Linked DNA regions of Homo sapiens: regions 1, 2 and 4 are each linked to region 3. The links are contacts of gene promoters, found by promoter capture Hi-C in blood cells and fetal thymus (Javierre and others, 2016). All regions are on one chromosome and are shown on one strand. The core of a region is centred on a gene start or on the middle of the fragment in contact, and the rest is flanking DNA. Distances in the headings are between cores, read along the strand shown. Region 1 has its middle 2.6 kb from the start of DSCAML1. Region 2 holds the start of TTC36 (tetratricopeptide repeat domain 36). Region 3 holds the start of SCN4B (sodium voltage-gated channel beta subunit 4). Region 4 overlaps KMT2A (lysine methyltransferase 2A).

Region 1 (3,510 bases), core at 981-3,480, 350 kb before region 3:
AGGCACTGGGGACTCAGGCATGGCTGAGCCAGGTCTGCTGTAAAAGGTCAATATGGTTGGAAAGCCCTCCTTTCGTCTTAATTCCAAAATAAGAGGATACATAGAACCCAGAGAAGGGATCCAGGTATCCCTGAGAATGGCCTATGAGCCAGGACTGTAGCTCCCTTTGCAGGGTCATGGAAGCTGCTTTGAGTATGCCCTGACAATTGGGCTGTACCTGGGCAGACTCTAAGGTGTGGAGTGCGAAGTTTGGAGGGAGAGAAGGGGTCCACTGGCTAGCTGCATTTGCCAGAGGAAGAAAATTTACTTCCTCGAAATGTGCGGCCTAAGTTCACATGGGAGAATTGGGACTCCTCACTCCCAGGTTTTGCCAAAATATCCCTAGAAATTTTAACTAAATTTTGAAAAGTGTGTTTTTTAATATGTTAAAATGTACATAACATAAAATTTACCATTTCAACCATTTGAAGTGTACTATTCTGTGGCATTAAATACATTCACGATGTGCAACCATCATCACTTACCATTTCCAAAACTTTTTCATCATCCCAAACAGAATCCTGCACCCATTAAATAATAACTCCCCCTTCCCCTCCCCTCCCCCAGCTCCTGGCAACCACTATTCTACTTTGTCTCTATGAAGTTGCTTATTCTAGGTACCTCATAAGTGAGATCATAAAGTATGTATCCTTTTGTGCTTGGCTTACTTCACTCAGCATAATGTTTTCAAGGTTCGTCCTTTAAACGGGTGAGAAAATCGGGGCTTAACTTGTTCAAGGCCACCAAGGTTGTATCAGAAGCAAGACTAGAACCCAGGCCTCCCGACTCCAGAGCAGAGCTTGCTCTATAAGCTGCAGCATCCCTCGGTGGCTCAGCTCTTCATGCAAAATCACCACCCTGAAACAATTTGCAGGAGGTGTTTTGTCATCTGGAAACACAGGCATAGAACAGAGACGGGGGGACAGACTGCAGGGGGTGTTTGAGATGACCCAGACCGATCTTTTGCTTTACAGATAAGGAAACTGAGGCCCAGAGTGGGGAAGCCATGAGCCTTCCCCGAGGTCACGCAGGGAGTGACAGAGCCCTCACGTTTCCAGTCTTCTGTCTTAGCTCCCATCTCTCACCGCCCTCAGCCTGCTGGCTTATTCTTCTACCATGCCCCCTCCCTTCTAAAGGGAACGGTCATTGAGAGGAATCCAGTTATTTAAAACTAAGCCTATTGACCCAGAGCACCTGGTCAGGTCATGCCTAAAATAAACCGCTAAGGCAGACAGGATGAAAGGGGCTGCTGTCTGCTGGGAGGGGATCTGAGTGGGCCTGGGGTAGCGGCACAGCTGCTCCGTGCCTCACACGCTGGAAGTAGCGGTGGACCCTCTTCTTTGCATCCACCCCAAGTACCTCCTACAACCTGAGTGTAGGAGGCTTTATGCTAGTTATACACAGGGGGCTTTAAAGAACCACAACATGTGTGTTACCCGAAGGGCGAGGTCATTCATTGTGCCGGTGACTGCAGTCTGGCTGTCCCGGGAGGAGACATATACGTGGAAATAAACGGGTGGTCAGTTGGGGAGAGCAGACCTGGGGACCCCCTCTGGCAAAAGGAAGCTTTCTAATGTCATGGTTAAGAGCCTGGCTTTGGAAACAGCAGGAGATGAGTCCTCAGCCCAGCTCTGCCACTTGCCAGCTGTGTGCCTGGGAAATGTATGTGTGCCAAGCTGCAGTTTCCTTACCAGTGGAATGGGGACATCCCCAGCATCTGCCTTGGAAAGTCGTAGCGAGGATTAAATAAGACAAGCCCCATGGCTGACGCATAGTGAGCACAGGTAACTACCATGAATGGGAACAGCTTTGCTCACAAGGACCTTGACCTGTGGGAACTGGGAGGAGGGAACAGCTCCACTGGGGGAATGCTGGGACGATATTGTGCCTTCCATGCTGTGACAAAGCCAGAGCCAAGGAGCTGGGAATCCAGGAAAGGGGCTGCAGAAACACGGAAGGTGCACACTGAGGCGGAAGAGCCTGGAGAGATGGCTAACAAAAGAAGGACCTGAAAAACAGGCAGGTCAGGCCTCATGCTTTTTGTGTTTCCCATTGATTTTGTTCTTCCTTAGTATCTAGGGAAATGTCTTTGAAAATGACAGGTTGGCTCAGATGTATTTAGAAGTCTCCTCTTCGACAGGAGTTGTATTGGGGTGGGCAAGCCAGCATGCCAGGAAATCCCAAGGGAAAAATGAAACGCCGGGGAAGAGAGTCAGGCGGCGTGTTCTACCCCACGCCCACCTTAAACCCTGACAGTCCCCTCCCCAGCTGACATTTTAGAGGGGCTATATTTTGATAGAAGGGACAGTTCCCAAAATTATATGGAAAACTTCACACCCACACACAAATATATTCATGCCAGAGTGAGAACAAACACAGTTGCCCAGGCAAACATTCATGTGTACAGGTAAACATAAACACCTAATGACAGGCACACCTGTGCTTCAATGTGATTTGAACCCAATCCAGAAATTCTGCATTGGCACCTATGCATATGCTCCATTTTTTTAAGCCTCAAATTTGTGGGATTCCTTTCTAGTAGGGACACACTACCCATTTAAAAGCAGTGATCAGTTTTAATATTTTCTTGCATCAGAATGCTGGGTGATGATCTGTCTGTATTTTGGCTTTTGTGCTTTTGTTTTTGTTTTTTTTAAACAATGCCAGTTGAAGCAGCTATATGAAGTCACTGGGAGCTGAGCCCTCTCCAATTCAGGTTAATCATGGATATTTAGGGGGTATTATTTTGCCATGTTATATTAAGACTAGAGCCATCCTGAGAAACAGCAGATGTTTTTATTGTTTAACTCAAACAATAAGCTTATATATTTTGGATACTTTTCTTCAAAAACAAAGGCATAAAATTATTTTAACAATGGCTTCATATGCCCTCTGGAATTCTTTGACAACTTGAGTATAAACAGGGTTTTCATAAAAGGAATCAATACTGAACCAGGTCTGTGTGAAAAACTTAACTTTTGGTATTATATAGCTAATTCAAGATTGACCTTCTTAGTACTTACTTATCAGTTGGGGGAGGAAAAAACAAGGATCTCCCTGCTTCCCTCCCCAAAATTTATAATTGATTTTAATATTATAGAAAGAGTTCTCATCTACAAATCAGAAATCCTAGGTTCTTGTGTCACCTCTGTCTCCATAGCCAGCTGTGTTACCTGTGACAAGTCACCTTGCCTTTCTGGACCTCAGTTTCTTCACCATTGAGGTGAAAGAGCTGGGCTGGAATGATCACCAAGATCCCTTCCTAGGACCAAACACAAGGTAAATGCAAACAAATATGCCCATTCCCCCCTCCTACCCCACATAGGTGTATAGTGTGTACCCACAAATGTGTGCAGGCAGAGAAACAGAAGCTTTTATGCACAGATATTCAGAAACTAATAGGCACAAAAAATTACACAAAATAAACAGTTTTGGCTTCAAATATATACACATACATCTAAAATACCATCT
Region 2 (3,394 bases), core at 895-3,394, 370 kb after region 3:
TGGTGGCCAGTGACAACTGTGTAACCAGAATAGCTGCATGGCGCTGACCCTTTGGCCGGAACTTGGTCTCTTGGCTCCCTCCTTGGCCACCCACCACCTCTCGCACAGCCCCTCTGTTTTTACACCAATAACAAGAATTAAGGGGGAAGCCCTGGCAGCTATACGTTTTCAACCAGACTCCTTTGCCGGGACCCAGCCCGCCACCCTGCTCGCCTCCGTCAAACCCCCGGCCAATGCAGTGAGCACCATGTAGCTCCCTTGATTTAAAAAAAATAAAAAATAAAAAAAAAAGGAAAAAAAAATACAACACACACACAAAAATAAAAAAAATATTCTAATGAATGTATCTTTCTAAAGGACTGACGTTCAATCAAATATCTGAAAATACTAAAGGTCAAAACCTTGTCAGATGTTAACTTCTAAGTTCGGTTTGGGATTTTTTTTTTTTAATAGAAATCAAGTTGTTTTTGTTTTTAAGGAAAAGCGGGTCATTGCAAAGGGCTGGGTGTAATTTTATGTTTCATTTCCTTCATTTTAAAGCAATACAAGGTTATGGAGCAGATGGTTTTGTGCCGAATCATGAATACTAGTCAAGTCACACACTCTGGAAACTTGCAACTTTTTGTTTGTTTTGGTTTTCAAATAAATATAAATATGATATATATAGGAACTAATATAGTAATGCACCATGTAACAAAGCCTAGTTCAGTCCATGGCTTTTAATTCTCTTAACACTATAGATAAGGATTGTGTTACAGTTGCTAGTAGCGGCAGGAAGATGTCAGGCTCACTTTCCTCTGATTCCCGAAATGGGGGGAACCTCTAACCATAAAGGAATGGTAGAACAGTCCATTCCTCGGATCAGAGAAAAATGCAGACATGGTGTCACCTGGATTTTTTTCTGCCCATGAATGTTGCCAGTCAGTACCTGTCCTCCTTGTTTCTCTATTTTTGGTTATGAATGTTGGGGTTACCACCTGCATTTAGGGGAAAATTGTGTTCTGTGCTTTCCTGGTATCTTGTTCCGAGGTACTCTAGTTCTGTCTTTCAACCAAGAAAATAGAATTGTGGTGTTTCTTTTATTGAACTTTTAACAGTCTCTTTAGTAAATACAGGTAGTTGAATAATTGTTTCAAGAGCTCAACAGATGACAAGCTTCTTTTCTAGAAATAAGACATTTTTTGACAACTTTATCATGTATAACAGATCTGTTTTTTTTCCTTGTGTTCTTCCAAGCTTCTGGTTAGAGAAAAAGAGAAAAAAAAAAAAGGAAAATGTGTCTAAAGTCCATCAGTGTTAACTCCCTGTGACAGGGATGAAGGAAAATACTTTAATAGTTCAAAAAATAATAATGCTGAAAGCTCTCTACGAAAGACTGAATGTAAAAGTAAAAAGTGTACATAGTTGTAAAAAAAAGGAGTTTTTAAACATGTTTATTTTCTATGCACTTTTTTTTATTTAAGTGATAGTTTAATTAATAAACATGTCAAGTTTATTGCTGCACATGGTTAAGCTTCCTTTTGGCTTTGGTTGGAGAGGGTGGAGAAAAGCGGGAGGGGCATGGCCTGTGACCTGGTCACAAAGTACCTTCCACAGTCCTTTACTTTAAGGTGGCATCACTAAATTATTCCCTGTAGCCCACCTTCAGGTCCACTCCACACTGGCTCTCTTGACTATTTTCTTCCTTTATTCATCAGTGATGTATGTTCAGGACCTAATTAATTGTGGATATGAGGCAGGGTCAAGAGGACAAAGGAACAGGGCCTTTACCTTCTACATAGCTCCCCTGTTTCATCCAAGGAGGTTAAGTATTGATTTTTATCGGTTTTCTCAACTGTGAATATAATAAACTGAAAGCATTTCAGGGAGAAGCTGGAGAACACCTTCTCTAGCTGCACTCCACCTTAAGGCTGAAGCTGGATTTGTTTACTGTTTCTCCTGGGGGCAGGGGCAGTTGAGAAATAACCAAGTAGTCTGCCAAGCCAGGGTCAACCCTCCAGGCCACAGGTTGAGCAAATGCTACAGCCATGGACAGGGAGACACTCCTCACGAAGGGGTGGTCCTCATCCTTTCAGATCAACTTCCTGCTGGAGGCTCCACCCTCACCACGTCCCTCCCTCTTCTCTCATCTGGAGTCACCTTTTGGGATTTTGGAGTTGAGCACCATGGGGACTCCAAATGATCAGGCAGTGCTGCAGGCCATCTTCAACCCTGACACCCCATTTGGAGACATTGTTGGATTGGACCTCGGAGAGGAAGCAGAAAAGGAAGAACGAGAAGAAGGTGGGCATTTGATCTGGAGTGTAGCTCTGCACATAGGCTGGCCTGCTGGCCTCCCGAGGTAGCAGAGAGGGAGGTGGTTTTATAAGGCCCCTTGTTCCATGATTATGATTGAGATTGGAATCAGAGAGGTTGGCTGCTCCTTAGCGCACTGATGGGGGTTTGGTAAGAGATGTCCTGCCAAGAGGAGTAAGCTGGGGTTTGTCTCTCGATCCATCAGCTCTCATGCCTCTGAACTTACCACTTAATTGACTGTATGATCCAAGCTTAACTGCCAGGTGATGTTAAACTCTCACATTTTTGTCATAACAGAGAATACCACCACCAGAACAGAAGACTGAAATAAGGCAGGGCATGGTTGCTCAGTTGAGTGGTTCCAATATAGCAAGCACAACCAGTAACCGTTAAACACTGTCACAAGCCAAGCTCCAAACTAACTCTTCCGCAGTGAGTGCGTTCACTGGCTTTTCCATTAATCCCTAATGAAGGAGTTTTTGATCCTTTGTTTCTAGAGGAGTAAAGCCTACACCTTACTAACTCAGGCCGAAACACAGAGGGATACGTCAGAAGTGATGTTCATGATCTGGGAATGTCATGGTGGCCTTTGCATAAGAGGCGGTGTAGTAGAGTAAAATGCAGACAGGAGCCAGAATGACCTGGGTTCAAATCCAAGCTCTGCAACGTATGGCCTGTTGAGGCCATACACAAAGAACTTGAGCAACTTCTTTAACAGATTGAGGAGTCTGGGCTTCATTCTCTTGGCAATGGGGAACCAACCAAGGCCCCTTCCCAGGTCTCTTGGAACTCAGGCAATGCTAGCTCCCAGCCTTAGTGACCTCATCTCCCCCTACCCCAAACACTGCAACTGACCCCTGCTGTGACCCATACCCAGTCAGCTCTGGCTCAGATCTCAGAATTCCAAAGCCTGAGGTGGCTTTTTCTTCTTGCTACCAACTGCACACCTGGCTTCTCCTGGCTCCTTCCCTGGCCCAGATGAAGTTTTCCCTCAAGCACAGCTGGAACAGTCCAAGGCCCTGGAGCTGCAGGGGGTGATGGCAGCAGAGGCTGGGGACCTCAGCACAGCCCTGGAGAGGTTTGGCCAAGCCATCTGCCT
Region 3 (3,520 bases), core at 824-3,323:
TCTGTATCTCCCCCACTGGACTGAGAAGCAAGGATGTCATCTATGTCCCAAGCTCAGACCAATGCCCCTGTGAGGGCTCAGTCAGTATTACCTGGTCAAGGGCCAAAGGGACTTTGGTTGGAGTCCCTCTGCAGACCAGAGGGGCAGGGGACAGAGCAGATGAGGCCAGTCCTGGGGCCTGCAGGTCTCCCACCTACAAGTCACTCTGCTTTCTCCTGGGCTCCCAAAGGGTAGCTCAGAAATTCATCTAAACCTATATCAATAGGCCTTAGCCCCTACCTGGTCTATACAGCTGAACAGTCCTTGGAGAAGGTGGGGCTTCCACCTGGAGCAATGTACCAAGACTGTGCCTACAATCCCCCTTACACACGTGCACACACACACACACACACACACACACACATCATTTTCAGGGCCCTCTTGGTTGCCCACAGAGGCCTGGTTCTATGAGTATTCTAACAAACAAGGGACTGGCATCCCACCACCCAGGAAGGTAAGCCAGAGGTGTGAAGTGGGGTAGTTTAATGACTGGCTGAGTTTGAATTCCTCAGTGATCCTTTACCCCTGCCATTGCCACCATGGGGACCTGGGCTGATCTGAGATGGGATGAGGGGAAGTAGCATGGAATGGCGCTGTGCCCACCCTGTGAAAAGGAGCCTCAGGCGTCACTAAGGCCCACTTCATTAAGGTCACTGTGAAACCAGCATGACATCTGTGCCAAGGTACAGGAGAAAACAAGGGTGTCTTCCATCTAGCGGTACAGAGGTAAATAAACATCCCAAGTACAAGAAATACTCTCTCCCCTCTTCACCACCAGGCACCAACCTGCTAGATCTGCACACAGTTTACATTCGCAGAAACAGTAGCCACTTCCCTTATAGGGTTCTGTCTCCCTGTTTTCAGCAGAAATACCTACACCGTGTGTCTTACCCAATGCAGGGAGCTGCCAAAAGCCAAATCTGACCAATATAAACAGGAAGAGATGCCGTTGCCAGAGATGGAGTCGGCTTACATTAAAGTCTGGCTATGATTTATGAGGAGATTACATCCTGGATGAATAAATATCATTCCCTAATCTCTTGGAGTTTGACACTCAAAACTCTCATGTGCATATTAATAGATATTAATAATGCTTCTTCCTCCGTGTCCTCTGGACATGTCTTCTCTGTCTCCATATTCACTTCAAAAATGAAGAGCCAGGAGCAGGTCAAACAGGTCTTCCCTACGGAATCTCTTTGTAGGAAGAGAGACAAGGCCGTTCCTAAAGGGCCTTGAATGATCCCGCAAGCCCCTCCAGCCCCTTCCAGCTTTCAGGTGCTGCTGTAGGGAAGGCAGTGGCTCCTGAGGGAGGTACAGGGCAGAGGAGCAAAGCAGGAAAAGGGCCCAGGAAGAAGGGGACTCCCCCACCCCCAACTGGTGCATGCCTGGTGCCTGGGAAACAAGCAAACGGCTCTGGGCCGGGATGGAAACCACCATTCCAACAGTCACACGTGCAACCCACCTGGTATCCCCTGCACTCAAGGCACGGACCCCCCTCCTCCAGCATCCTGAACCTCTGAACTCTGGAGACCCGCGCTGCAGCCCCAAGATCCAGCTCCAAATACCTGGAGCCGAAGGTGCCAAGGACAGCAAAAAAACTAATCCTGAGACTGGCGGGCTGATGGGGTAGAGAGGGACGCACACGGTCCCCAGGGAGCACAGCCTATGAACCAGGCAGGAACCAGGCAGGAAGCCGGCGGCCACCATCCTCATTCCGTGCCGCACTCCAAAGCCCACCCCATCCAAGGCATCTTCCTTCTCGAGTGTCCCCTTCTTTGGGGGTGGGGGGAGGCAAGAGAAGAGACCAAGCTGGGGCTGCCTTACCCAAAAGCCCAGTGCCCAGCCATCTCGCCGGGGCTTTGCCTCCGTCCCCAGCCCCGGGCATAGTCCTGTTCTCTCCGGAGCGCGCGGGGGTCGCGGGGATGGGATACTGGGCACAGCCGCGCTCTCCGCCCGAGGTCGGCGTTCGGCCACAAAGCTACCCCGGAGCTCTGCGCCGCCGGTCGGGGCTCGGGAAAGTTAGCGGGCAGAGAGCGAGAGGAGGGGGAGGGAGGGAGCGGAGGGGGAGGCGCGCTCGCCCGCTGCTGGGAGCCGGCTGCTGGAGCAACGGCGGGAGGGAAGGAGTAGGAGGAGCCGGAGCAGGAGCGGGAGGAAGACGGAGCGAGCGCAGCGGCGAGCGAGGCTGCGCCTCTGCTCTGGAAGCGCTCCAGCCGCAGGAGGGGCGGTGGCCGCCGCGTAGGCCGGGGAGCCCCCGCCCGCTGCGCACCCTGCCTGCCGCACCCCGCCTCGCGGTCCCGGAGCCCCGGGACCACGCCGTGCCCCCAACTCCCTCTCCAGTGGGGCTGGGCTGCTGCGGCTGGCACTGCAGGGCCGGCCTGCAGCCACCCGCATCATCCCATGCGCTGAGCTGCCAATTAGGAGCATAGTTCGGGGGGAGTAGAGGTGGAGCTTTTCGGTTGCTGGAAGACTGTTTTGCTTTGCTTGGGGGAACACGGGAAGGTTAGCGGCTCCCTCTCCCAGGACCGCCAAGGGACCGCTTTAAAGTCCGCAGCGGACGCTGCCGCAACGGGTGGGCGTGTGCGGGCTTGCCCACTGCAGCTTGCGCCTCCTCGGTGGCGTGCGACATGGCGCGCGTGCAGCCTCGGGACCCGCTCCCGCCACCTTCTGCCCCATCGCTCAGCAACTCCGGCGGTTGTTTTAGGAAGCCCGGAACAGAGCTTTCCCATTGCAAACTGCCCCGGCCCTCCCTTCCCCCACCCCCACGCCACCCCGCCCCACATTTCTCCATGGACCCCTTGGAAATCACCACGCTCCAGGTTAGGGAGCAGGTTGGTCCGCGCCTGGTCTGTGTCCTGCGCCCCATTTCACCCTCCCGCTGCACCCCTGCTTCTCATTTTTCCTACCTAGGCCGTCCCCCTCAGATGCTGCCTTTTCGCCCTCCTCCAACTCTCCTGTTTTCTTCGGAACGGCAGACTCCCTCGGCCTCCCTTTTGGGGTAGGGGTGGAGGAGTCCAGGGTGACAACCAGGTCAGAGGGCTGAGGCGAGGCTGTGAACGAGTAAGCCTTTTCCCAGACAGGCCCAAGTGAAAGAGTTTCACCTGAGCGGTGCTACTTGGGCTGGTGGTTCTGTAAATGAGTCGATCTCCTCCTCAGCACCTTTCCAACCATCCAAGACCCTCCCTGCATCACAGGCCCTCTTTACTGTCTAGGACTGGTCCGGACTGGGAAGCCCGCTCCCACTTCATGGTCTGACTTCTGCTGCAGGCACACCAACGCACCGCCTTCTTAACGAGGGGTCTCTGGGTGGACTTCGGCGTGATCACGGACCCCTTGAGGTTGCAGGCAAAGTGCTGAATGTCTGTTTGCTTTTTCAGGAGAGAGGGTCGCTGCCTTCCCTATAGTGGCACAGAGGCTCTGGCAGCGCCACCATTTATGACTGTATGGCTTTGAGCAAGTTACATGGTCTTCTGGGGGAGCCTCT
Region 4 (3,728 bases), core at 207-2,706, 340 kb after region 3:
ATGAAATTAATTGGTTCTCCCTCCCCTTTTGAGATCAGATCTGAATAATGTGCCTTTCTTTATAAGGTCTTCATTTGTAGATAGATGCCTGTTAATTTTATGATTTTAAGTATGTATAGGAAATGATTATTTATTATCTCATGATCTATATTTGCGATTCTGTTGTTTATTTTTATTTATTTATTTATTTATTTGAGATGGAGTCTCGCTCTGTTACCCAGGCTGGCATGCAGTGACATGATCTCGGCTCACTGCAACCTCTGCCTCCCGTAATCAAGTGATTCTCCTGCCTCAGCCTCCCAAGTAGCTGGGATTACATAAGCATGTGCCACCATGCCTGGCTAATTTTGTATTTTTGGCGGAGATTGGGTTTCACCATGTTGGCTAGGCTGGTCATGAACTCCTGACCTTAAGTGATCCACCCACATCAGCCTCCCAAAGTGCTGGGATTACAGGCGTGAGCCACTGTTTATTTATTTTAATCCAAAATAAAAACTGTGGACCTGCTTGGATAATTTATCATGATACAGCCAATTTGTTTGCATTCTTACCTCATTAGCCTGGCATCTCTTAATTGCCACAGGTTAATCGTGAATTGAATCTCAAAGGTCTCAGCCAAAGAGTATTATACCACATTAAAATAGGGTGTGAGTTTTCTGTTGGATCTCTGTGCTGGATGATTAAGGAGGGAAGAGGAAATGGTTTTCAGAGCACACTGTTTTAAGAATAATTAACATTTTGTTTTTGTATACAGTTGGAGTTCAGTGATGATATTGTGAAGATCATTCAAGCAGCCATTAATTCAGATGGAGGACAGCCAGAAATTAAAAAAGCCAACAGCATGGTCAAGTCCTTCTTCATTCGGGTGAATGATATTACTAATTCATGTTTTTAATGCTTACCTATAAGTAATTACCCTGTGAATACAATGAACTTGTTCTCTTCTACTTTTTGCTTTGTGGTGTGTATAAAACATCTTTGGTTTAATTTGATCCCCTGATTCTTTGAGAGGAACTTGGTGAGGTTGCCAGAGTGGATGGATCTTTCTCTTGGTGGCCTGAAATTATCCTCGTATTAACAGAGAAGCTGGTTTGAAGATTTTTCATGTGGTATCTAAATGAGTGTTTACATATTTACATTTTGTTTGTGTTTTCTTTTAGCAAATGGAACGTGTTTTTCCATGGTTCAGTGTCAAAAAGTCCAGGTTTTGGGAGCCAAATAAAGTATCAAGCAAGTAAGTGAATTTAGCATAACTTTTTTTTCTCCTCATCGGCTAGAAATCTGAGAGTTCTCATATTTCTAGATTGCAGTTTTCCAAAAGGTTTTAATACTAGAAATGAATTGGTTGAAATGCCTTTTCGGTGTGGTTTTGAGGACTACATTTAATGTTTGTTATAAGCAATTGCCTTTTTGTTCTTTACTTTTATATTTGTTTTATTGTAGGGAGCTTGGTTTAATTGTGACAAATGTACAATACATGTGTGGTACAGCCATGTAGCTGGCCTTGTTATAAATGGGTTCTGTTTGACTGATAGTTCAAATGGTGCTTTGTACTGCTCTTGATTTTCCATATGTAACCTTTAATTTTTATTCCAGTAAATTCTTTTGATTTGATTTTATTTATTTATTTATTTTTTTTTTTTTGAGACGGAGTCTCGTTCTGTCACCAGGCTGGAGTGCAGTGACATGATCTCGGCTCACTACAACCTCCGCCTCCCTGGTTCAAGCGATTCTCCTCCCTCAGCCTCCCAAGTAGCTGGGAAAACAGGCGGGCACCACCATGCCCAGCTAATTTTTGTATTTTAATAGAGACTGGGTTTCACCATTTTGGCCAGGATGGTCTTGATCTCTTGACCTGGTGATCCGCCTGCCTCACCCTCCCAAAAGTGCTGGGATTACAGGCATGAGCCACCATGCCCGGCCTCTTTTGAGTTTTTGATAGGGTTATCATTTGTTTCAGCAAGTTTAACCAAGAGTCATATGTTGAGATATTTTTTAAAATATTGAGTTCTGTGTACTTCAGCAATTTTCAAACGCTGTGACTTGTTCTTATATTCTGTGAATGGCTCCTACATGGGGCAACAGGTGATATCAAGAATTTATTTTATACAGTTCTAGGTATACTGTAGGAGTTCAATAAATGCTTGTTGAATCAATTATTTTCAGCAGTGGGATGTTACCAAACGCAGTGCTTCCACCTTCACTTGACCATAATTATGCTCAGTGGCAGGAGCGAGAGGAAAACAGCCACACTGAGCAGCCTCCTTTAATGAAGAAAATCATTCCAGCTCCCAAACCCAAAGGTCCTGGAGAACCAGACTCACCAACTCCTCTGCATCCTCCTACACCACCAATTTTGAGTAAGCCACCAAAAGGAGAGTCGTCACCCATTTCCCTCTAGATGCAGATGATTGACTTCGTGAATCCAATTCACTAAAATTAGATATACTTGGATATCAGAAAGGAATTTTCAGGTCATCCTTAAATGTAATACCATCATTAATTTTGCTTCACTTGAGGTGTTAATGAGGACTTGATATAAATACTCTGGAGTATTGTAACATAGATGATGAGGTAGCGTAACTCTGAACACTTTTTGAAAAGTGGTTATTTTATAGGCTGTGGGCTATGTAAGCTGAATTATTTCTTTTTTCCTTGAAATCAGACATAGTATTGCCAATTTTAACTGGATCTCAAGGTATTGATGGGAGTCTTTTGGATTTCAAGGTACTGATAGGAGTCGAGAAGACAGTCCAGAGCTGAACCCACCCCCAGGCATAGAAGACAATAGACAGTGTGCGTTATGTTTGACTTATGGTGATGACAGTGCTAATGTAAGTACTTTGCAACACAGGGCCCTAGTTAATACATACTCCAAAAGAACTGTTTGTCCTTGTGTCCATACTTGATGACTGGGTGCCATTTATTTAATGAACTTACTTATAACTTACTAATTTATAACTTTTATTTACCTATAACTTATAACTTATTAATTTGTAACTTATTTTTTGTCACTTAGTTCATGGCACTTGGAGTTTTTTAATGACTGATTTTGTTGATTAAAAGGTGACTGATTTGCCTTAAATTAAACCCTTGATGTCTAGTAATTTCTAATGGAAGTTCCTCAAGAATATTTTGTGAAAGTTAATAAAATCTAAGTTGCATATTAAAAAGCTTGTGTTTCATATAGGATAGCAGAATCGTTAAGAGCCCGAGTTCTGCCGCCTGCCTGAATACATTTCTGTGCTTAACTGCCTACTTATTGACTTTGGCAAGTAGTTTAACCTCTCTGACCCTCAGTTTCATCTTTAAAATGAAGATAATAACGCTTACCTCAGAGTGGCTGTGAGGATTAAATGAAATAATGTATGTAAAGCCTCTATTTGGTGCCTGGCACACACAGTAAGCTACAATTTTTTTAAAAGTTTTTTGTGTTTTTTGTTTTGTTTTGTTTTGTTTTTTTGAGCGGAGTTTCGCTCTTGTTGCCCAGGCTGGAGTTTCGCTCTTGTTGCCCAGGCTGGAGTGCAATGGCGTGATCTCGGCTCACTACAACCTCCGCCTCCTATGTTCAAGCAATTCTCCTGCCTCAGCCTCCCGAGTAGCTGGGATTACAGGCATGTGCCACCATGCCCGGCTAATTTTGTATTTTTAGTAGAGACGGAGTTTCTCCATGTTGGTCAGGCTGGTCTCAAACTCCCGACCCCAGGTGATCCACCCACCTCATATCC

What was found. Contacts are between HindIII fragments. The CHiCAGO score rates a contact against its expected background, and 5 or more counts as called.
Region 1: a contact is called between a fragment that was not itself captured here and the fragment with the promoter of SCN4B in region 3, in 1 of 17 cell types (naive B cells). The highest score is 5.1, in naive B cells.
Region 2: the fragment with the promoter of TTC36 here is called in contact with the fragment with the promoter of SCN4B in region 3 in 8 of 17 cell types (neutrophils, naive CD8 T cells, M1 macrophages and 5 more); the score reaches 7.2 in neutrophils.
Region 4: a fragment that was not itself captured here is called in contact with the fragment with the promoter of SCN4B in region 3 in 5 of 17 cell types (neutrophils, total CD4 T cells, activated CD4 T cells and 2 more); the score reaches 8.3 in neutrophils.

Annotation. Positions count from the first base shown.
Region 1 is chr11:117,798,026-117,801,535 of GRCh38, forward strand. It overlaps a transcript of DSCAML1 not described here. Among named protein-coding and RNA genes, the nearest start is that of DSCAML1, 2.6 kb to the left of the region's middle. The HindIII fragment of the contact is 1,254 bases long and covers 1,604-2,857 here.
Region 2 is chr11:118,525,330-118,528,723 of GRCh38, forward strand. It overlaps TTC36 (tetratricopeptide repeat domain 36), which reads left to right and starts at 2,145. Exons shown (of 3, transcript NM_001080441.4): 1 at 2,145-2,283; 2 at 3,274-3,394. The coding sequence starts at 2,166. It overlaps KMT2A (lysine methyltransferase 2A), which reads left to right. Exons shown (of 36, transcript NM_001197104.2): 36 at 1-1,503. All of the region lies in intron 1 of TTC36-AS1 (TTC36 and KMT2A antisense RNA 1), which reads right to left. The HindIII fragment of the contact is 1,033 bases long and covers 1,512-2,544 here.
Region 3 is chr11:118,150,750-118,154,269 of GRCh38, forward strand. SCN4B (sodium voltage-gated channel beta subunit 4) reads right to left here and starts at 2,074. Exons shown (of 5, transcript NM_174934.4): 1 at 1,864-2,074. The coding sequence starts at 1,924. RefSeq lists an enhancer at 2,692-3,192. The HindIII fragment of the contact is 14,636 bases long and covers 1-3,520 here.
Region 4 is chr11:118,493,534-118,497,261 of GRCh38, forward strand. KMT2A (lysine methyltransferase 2A) reads left to right here. Exons shown (of 36, transcript NM_001197104.2): 17 at 755-865; 18 at 1,161-1,234; 19 at 2,167-2,360; 20 at 2,728-2,834. Among named protein-coding and RNA genes, the nearest start is that of TTC36, 32 kb to the right of the region's middle. The HindIII fragment of the contact is 3,432 bases long and covers 1-3,172 here.